Regions from separate parts of the Homo sapiens genome. Here region 1 is linked to region 2. Evidence: promoter capture Hi-C in 16 types of primary human blood cells and fetal thymus (Javierre and others, 2016). All regions are on one chromosome and are shown on one strand. The core of a region is centred on a gene start or on the middle of the fragment in contact, and the rest is flanking DNA. Distances in the headings are between cores, read along the strand shown.

Region 1 (3,479 bases), core at 117-2,616, 290 kb before region 2:
CGGAGAATTTAACTGACGCAGAAAGATCAACAGGAGGAAAGCACGGAAGCTTATTTAAAGGAAGCTCTATATGGTGGGAGAGCCTCCCATGGAAGGAATGCCCTAAAGCCACAGAGTTGGACACTCACACCCATGTGAGCAAACAGGACTTGCAAGAAGTGGATGGGTGGATCTCTAGTGGCTCACCGGCCCTAAATCCTCATAGAGCCCAGTGACCGTTTGCTGACTAGAGGTCACACGGGTACCCGGAGTTCCTTGAAATCCCATACCTCTGTTAAACTTTGGGACTTCCAGAGCTCCCCTGAACCAACCCATCAGAACACAGGAAGTTTGAATTTTTCATTTGCATAAGCGAACCTATGTGAGAACTTTCAGTATAAAAGCTGGACCCTCTCTTTGTTCTCTGGAAAGCATCCTGGTTTTACGCTGAAGGCAGCATCTCCCACTTCACAAACTGTTCATAGGAATAGTCTTTCCTCTACATTCCTTTTCAAAGAACTTTTGTGCACCCTGAATTGGAGGTGGAGTAGTAAGCTGTGAAAAATACATTGTGTGCGGAGGCTGCCAAGAAGAGTGATTTTAAGGAGGCTATGCTGAAATCTCTCTGGGTCTGGGCCTCCCACTGTTGATAAGAAAGATGCTTTCCCAAACGTATGGGGAGGGCATCTTTCACATGAGAATTTCGTCTCCTGCTTTTAAGACATGGAATGGCGATCAGCTTAAAGCCAGAGCAATGCCTTTGGGGTGGTGGGCTCTTAGCTCCTTCAGGATCACGCCACAGAAGGAAATCGGTGAGCACCTGCTCCCGCCCTCAGAAAAAGCTGCAGTTTCTTAGGGAGTGACAGCTGTTCATGCCAGCTTTGGGGGCACTTCCCATCTGGAGCAAAGGAGGTCAACTTCGAACAGCACGAAGCCAGCTGCTTCCCAAGGTAAGAAATGTCAACAAAATTCAAGTGACCAAACTCTCCGTTTTGAAGATGGGGACTCTCAGTTTGGGGACAGGCCACACCGCTTCAAGAGAGCATGGGGTTCTGCACCCGCACCTCTGAGCCCTCCTTTCAAAGGACGCATTTGGTTCTTGCCTCGTTGGAAAGGCAGGTGGAGCTTCATTTAAGGAATAATGACCCTGCCATTACTGGCCATTTTGGGCTTGATTCATTTTCCTTTCCATAAACTCAGCCAAAGAGAGTCAAAGGCTTCCTTTAAGACACTCTCTTTTCTGTACTTGGACCTGCAGTGTGGCCCCTGGGAGGTGGACAATGACTTCACTCTCAGCTCACAGCATCCTTGCGTTCTGTGTCAGGGGAGCAAAATCCCATGTGAACTGGGCACCCTCCCTTTCCACAGACATTAACCCCCAAACGTGAGAGCGGGCTCCCAGCCACCTGGAAGGCAGCAGCATCCACGCCGCCGGAGCTGGTGTCTGAGGGGCAGATGGCATGGACAGGCTCCTCCCTTCAGGCATTGCTATGTCCTGGGAAGGAACAGAGAGAGGAATACAAGGATGATGGGAGTCAATTCAGTAATTCCAAGTGGGACATTAACATGCCAGCCCTCTGCTCACTGAGGGACAGAGTGGTCTGCCCAGAGGAAGCATGGTAGCCTGGGCCCGAGCTGCGGGACTGAGTGGCTGCCCTCCTGAAACCCACCCTCCTCTGTCCAAGAGCAGGAGCTGTGTTCAGCTGGGCAAGGCTGATGACTGAAGCCTGGCTGCTGGTGCCTGGGAATAAATCAGAGGCTGACGATGGTCACTGGAGAAGAACAGCAACAAGGCATCAGTGACGATTGCCACCTGTCAGTCGCCTCCTCAGAACCACATCCTGAGCTGAGCTGTGACTAACTTGACCTCTGCACCTCTGTGAAAAAGGATATGGCTGCCCGTTTTCCAGCAAGGAATGAGGACTGAGGGCAGCTCTTGGCTTTGGTTGGCCAGGGCTTGAACCTTCTGTTTCTGGGCAGAACTAGAGCCATAAGGGGTGATCCAAAGGGAAGGCAATTCCTGGGTTCACCCATAAACTCATAACAGAGTTGTTATACTTTCTGCTGAGATAAATGACTTCTTTTATTTCCCTTTTGGAGAACAATTGCCCAATGTTCTGGCTAGTTTTTATTTGGCTTAAATTTTGGAATGAAAGGAAAGTATGACCCATTAGTGAAGCTGGATGTGAAGATGGAGAAAGTGTGTATGCCTGTGTCTCCATGAGAAAGACAAGACTAAGCAAGAAATACTAACCCCTGAGCAGCAGGTCAGGCCCTCTTCTGGAAATGAACCTAAAGTTAGGTCTCTGTGTACTTTCTAATTATATTAGTCTGTCTTCACACTGCTATAAAGAACTATCAGAGACTGGGTAATTTATGAAGAAAGAAGATTTAATTGACTCAGTTCTGCAGGCTTAACAGGAAGCATGACTGGGAGGCCTCAGGAAACTTATAATCATGGTGGAAGGTGAAAGGGAAGCAACGCACATTTTCCTATGGTGGAGCAGGAGAGAGAGAGTGACGGGGGAAGTACCACACACTTTAAAACTTTCAGATCTCATGAAAACTCACTATCATGAGAACAGCAAGGGGGAAGTCAGCCCCCTGGATTCAGTCACCTCCCACCAGGCCTCTCACCAATTCAACATGAGATTTGGGTGGGTACACAAATCTAAACCACAAAATTTGACCCCTGGCCCTTCCCAAAGCTTACGTCCTTCTCACATTGCAAAATGCAATTATCCCTTCTCAACAGTCCCTGAGTCTTAACTCATTTTAGCATTAACTGAAATCTCCACAGTCCAAAGTCTTATCTGAGACAAGATAAGTCCCTTCCAGCTATGATCCTGTAAAATAAAAAATAGTTACTTCCAAGATATAATGGGGGTATAGGCATTGGGTAAATGCTTCCATTCCAAATGGAAGAAATTGGGCAAAAGAAAGGGGCTACAGGCCCCATGCGAGTCCAAAACTCAGCAGGGCAGGCATTAAACCATAAAGCTCCAAAGTGATCTCCTTTGACTCTGTGTCCCACATCCAGGCCACACTGACACAAGGAGTGGGCTCCCATGGCCTTGGGCAGCTCTGCCTCTGTGGCTCTGCAGGGTACAGCCACCATGGCAACTTTCATGGGCTGGTGTTGAGTGCCTGTGACTTTTCCAGGTGCATGGTGCAAGCTGTCAGTGGATCTACCATTCTGAGATCTGCAAGACAGTGGCCCTCCTCTGACAGCTCCACTAGGCAGTGCTGCAGTGAGGACTCTGTGTGGGGGCTCCAACCCCACATTTCTCCTCTGCACTGCCCTAGTAGAGGTTCTCCATGAGGACTCTGCAGGCAGACTTCTGCCTGGACATCTAGGCATTTCCATATATCTTCTGAAATCTAGGCAGAGGTTCCCAAACCTCAGCTCTTGACTTCTGTGCACCTGCAGGCCCCACACCATGTGGAAGTCACCAATGCTTGGGCCTTGCACCCTCTGAAGCCATGGCCCAAGTTGTACC
Region 2 (3,238 bases), core at 679-3,178:
GAAGCCCAGCCTGGCGCCTGCCCTGCCCCCGTCACGGGATGGGCCCCCATTGGGGTTCAACATTCCATCGCAGCCAAAGGCAGTCGGCACTTGGGACATCTGCTTCCACGGACAGGTCACCTCCGCTTTGCACGGAAGAATCTGGATGCTTACATTAAACTGGTGTTCTGAGAGTTCCTACGGACAGGTCACCTCCGCTTTGCATGGAAGAATCTGGATGCTTACATTAAACTGGTGTTCTGAGAGTTCCTACGGACAGGTCACCTCTGCTTTCCATAGAAGAATCTGGACGCTTACATTAAACTGATGTTCTGAGAATTCCTACAGGCAGGACTGAAAGCCTGGTGTGTGCCAGTATGATGTTCCACCCACAGAAACCTGGTCACAATCGTCCCTTCCAGCACCCCATCCAGCAGTGACTGCACACACTGAGTCCCCTACCAGCCCCTTTCACCCTGCTGACTGTCACTGGGCCCTGGGATGCGCAAGACTCCACAGCAGCAGAGGTGGGGGGACATATCACAGCCTCTGCCCCCGGCTGTGATGCCACCGAGGGGCTCGCCTGCTGATGGCTTCAACAGGGTCTCACCTCATCTTTTCCTGCTCTTTGGCCCTGGATCGAGAAAATTTCCATCAGTGCCCCATTAATATGCTGCCCTGTGGCATCTGCCCAGGAGGCCCTGCCAGGCGTGCACAGGTGTGCATTGGTGTACCCTGGCATGCACAGGTGTGCACTGATGTGCCCTGGCATCCATTGGTGTACCCTGGTGTGCCTGCCATAGGACCCTGGGCGGGAGCTCCCATCTCATCTACATCTCCTGATTCATGCGTTGTTTCATAGGTTTCAATGTCTCTGTAAATGTGGTAGAAATGCAGGCTTTATGGGCATAAAGTGTACATTTCTAAATAAATCCCTTCTATTGAGTATGCTCACCCTAGAAGTTACTGTTGTCCAGACGTAGAGGGATGAGTGAGCCAGTGACCTCAGACGGGATGGTGGGGACGGCAGGTCCAGCTCCTGCCTCCTCCTGGGGGGTCTGGCTTTGGGGGCTTGCTCCGAAGAGGCCATGGCCCAGGCCTGTGGCCTCACAATGGGGACCAACCAGCTCTTCTCATCTTCTTCCCTCACACTTCCTCTCACTCAAATAAGAACCTTCCAAAAATGTGTCCACCTGGGCCCCTGCCCTGGGACTCATGGATTTGGAGTTGTGGCCACACGGTTGAGGGGTGCAGTGTCCAGTGGAATGGGGCAATTGCGGGCCTGGGGGCCCTTGGCCTGTCCGTGGCGGGAGCATCTGCAAGGAGGAGCCCCAGAGTCCAGGGAGCACTGTGGGGAGCTCCTTAGAGCTGAACTCACCCGGCGTCAACTCATCAACCCTCCACCCATGGACAGGGGTGCCCCCAGCACAGGAGAGGACTCAGCCCTCTGCCCCCACGCACGGTGGGTGCCTGTCACCCTGTCCTGCCCAGCGGCCCGAGGGCAGCAGTGGGTGTGAGGGCAGCCCCCGGCCTCCCAAGAGCAGCTGAGAGGATCCCTGCGGGAATCCGGGCTTCGGGTGCATGCGATCTGATCTGAGTTGTTTCTGACAGTGACAGAGTGACAATCTATAAGTATCTCAAGATCAAATGGTTAAATAAAACATAAGAAATTTAAAACGATTAAAATATGCCTCAGTCTTGGGAATCCTGGTGTCTGCAACAAAAAAACTTGAGGCTGTCCTTGCAAACGGTCCTCATGGTGCTGGGGGTGGTGCCAGGCCCGGCGTTTGCCTGGAACACAGAGCATGCGAGAAGGAGCAGAGGACGTGGGTGCCAGGGAAGGACCCTGGCGTCAGAGCCAGGGCCTGGACCTGAGTTACCCATTAACGGCACTCCACTGGTTTTCCTTTAAAGAAATGAATAAATACAACTGCAGTGGGGCTGCTTGTGGTTTCCAAACGTCGGCAGAGGCTGGAGACGGCTCTCTAGTGCTGGGTGTGGAGTGAGGCACCACCCTTGCCCTGAAGCCTGGGGCACTCAGTCACCATGGCTCATGCCCCAGAACCGGACCCGGCCGCCTGCGACCTCGGGGATGAGAGGCCCAAGTGGGACAACAAGGCCCAGTACCTCCTGAGCTGCACTGGGTTTGCCGTGGGACTGGGGAACATTTGGCGGTTCCCATACCTGTGCCAGACCTATGGAGGAGGTAAGCACCCACCTGCGTCCTGGGGCAGACCCCTAAGCAGGGGAGGCCGTCTCCACCCTGACCTGCCAGGCGCCTGCCACGCATCCCCAGTGCTTGGGCAGAGTCACTCCTCCTGGAAACCAGGGTGCACCATTGCCCACGGCAGAGTCAGTCCCCTCAGGGCCCACCTGCAGTCTTCTGGGACCTCAGGGCAGCTTCACCACTGCCCACAGCACGGAGGATCCAGTCCCCTCGGGGTCCACTATGGTCTTCCGGGACCTCAGGGCAGCTTCCTGCCAGGCGTCAGGTTGAATGGGCCGCCCTGCCCGACACACACACCCTACAAACAGTGAGCGCTCTTCCATCTGAATGTCGTCAGTTCTTTAAAGAACACACAATCCGCTCTGGGTTTCCTCACCACAGCCTTGGTGTGTCCAGACATGTGCTCAGGTGCCCTTCTCCGAGGTTCTTTGCAGGAATTTGGGGGCCCACCCCTCGCCTCCCTGGCTTTGGTTCTCTGGGAGAGCCCTGTGGGGGGTGCCAGGATGTTCAGAACTGTCTGGGTGACTTTAGTGACCTTGGACTCACCACCCCCAGAAGTGCATTGGTGACTGAAATAGGCTCCCACGCACCTCGAGCCTCCCCTCACCCTGTGCCTGCTTCTCTTCATGCAGGGGTCACACTCTGCTCTCCATGTGGCGACACAGGATGTAGGGACAGGCATGAATCACTGCTCTCAGGGAGCCGACGTACAACATCACGCATGGACACCCAGGTCTTCCCCAGGCAACACGGGCAGGGGCTTCCCAGGCCGCAGGGTCCTCCTCAGGCCAGGCCGGGCTGCTTGGTCAGCCTGTTCCCCGGGCCCTCAGCTCCTTCCCTGAGAGCCCCGCACAACTATCCCTTGTTATAAGGTTACTCCTTTAAAGTGTTTTTCCTCCTGCTTAAGAAAAGATTCTCAACAGGCAGAAAATGCAGGAAATGCGCACAAATGGAAAAAACAAAAAGAAACACCCGTCACTGCCACCCTCGGGGCACTGGGGTCTCTTTGGGGCTTTGGGGCTGGAGAGGGTG

Evidence for each region. The method cuts DNA at HindIII sites, captures the fragments that hold promoters and counts their contacts. A CHiCAGO score of 5 or more calls a contact.
Region 1: a contact is called between a fragment that was not itself captured here and the fragment with the promoter of SLC6A18 in region 2, in 4 of 17 cell types (erythroblasts, fetal thymus, M2 macrophages and 1 more). The highest score is 8.0, in erythroblasts.

The regions. Positions count from the first base shown.
Region 1 is chr5:931,003-934,481 of GRCh38, forward strand. No RefSeq gene overlaps it. Among named protein-coding and RNA genes, the nearest start is that of TRIP13, 40 kb to the left of the region's middle. The HindIII fragment of the contact is 2,638 bases long and covers 48-2,685 here.
Region 2 is chr5:1,223,453-1,226,690 of GRCh38, forward strand. SLC6A18 (solute carrier family 6 member 18) reads left to right here and starts at 1,929. Exons shown (of 12, transcript NM_182632.3): 1 at 1,929-2,185. The coding sequence starts at 2,026. SLC6A19 (solute carrier family 6 member 19) reads left to right here. Exons shown (of 12, transcript NM_001003841.3): 12 at 1-1,659. RefSeq lists an enhancer at 2,323-2,865. The HindIII fragment of the contact is 4,471 bases long and covers 1-3,238 here.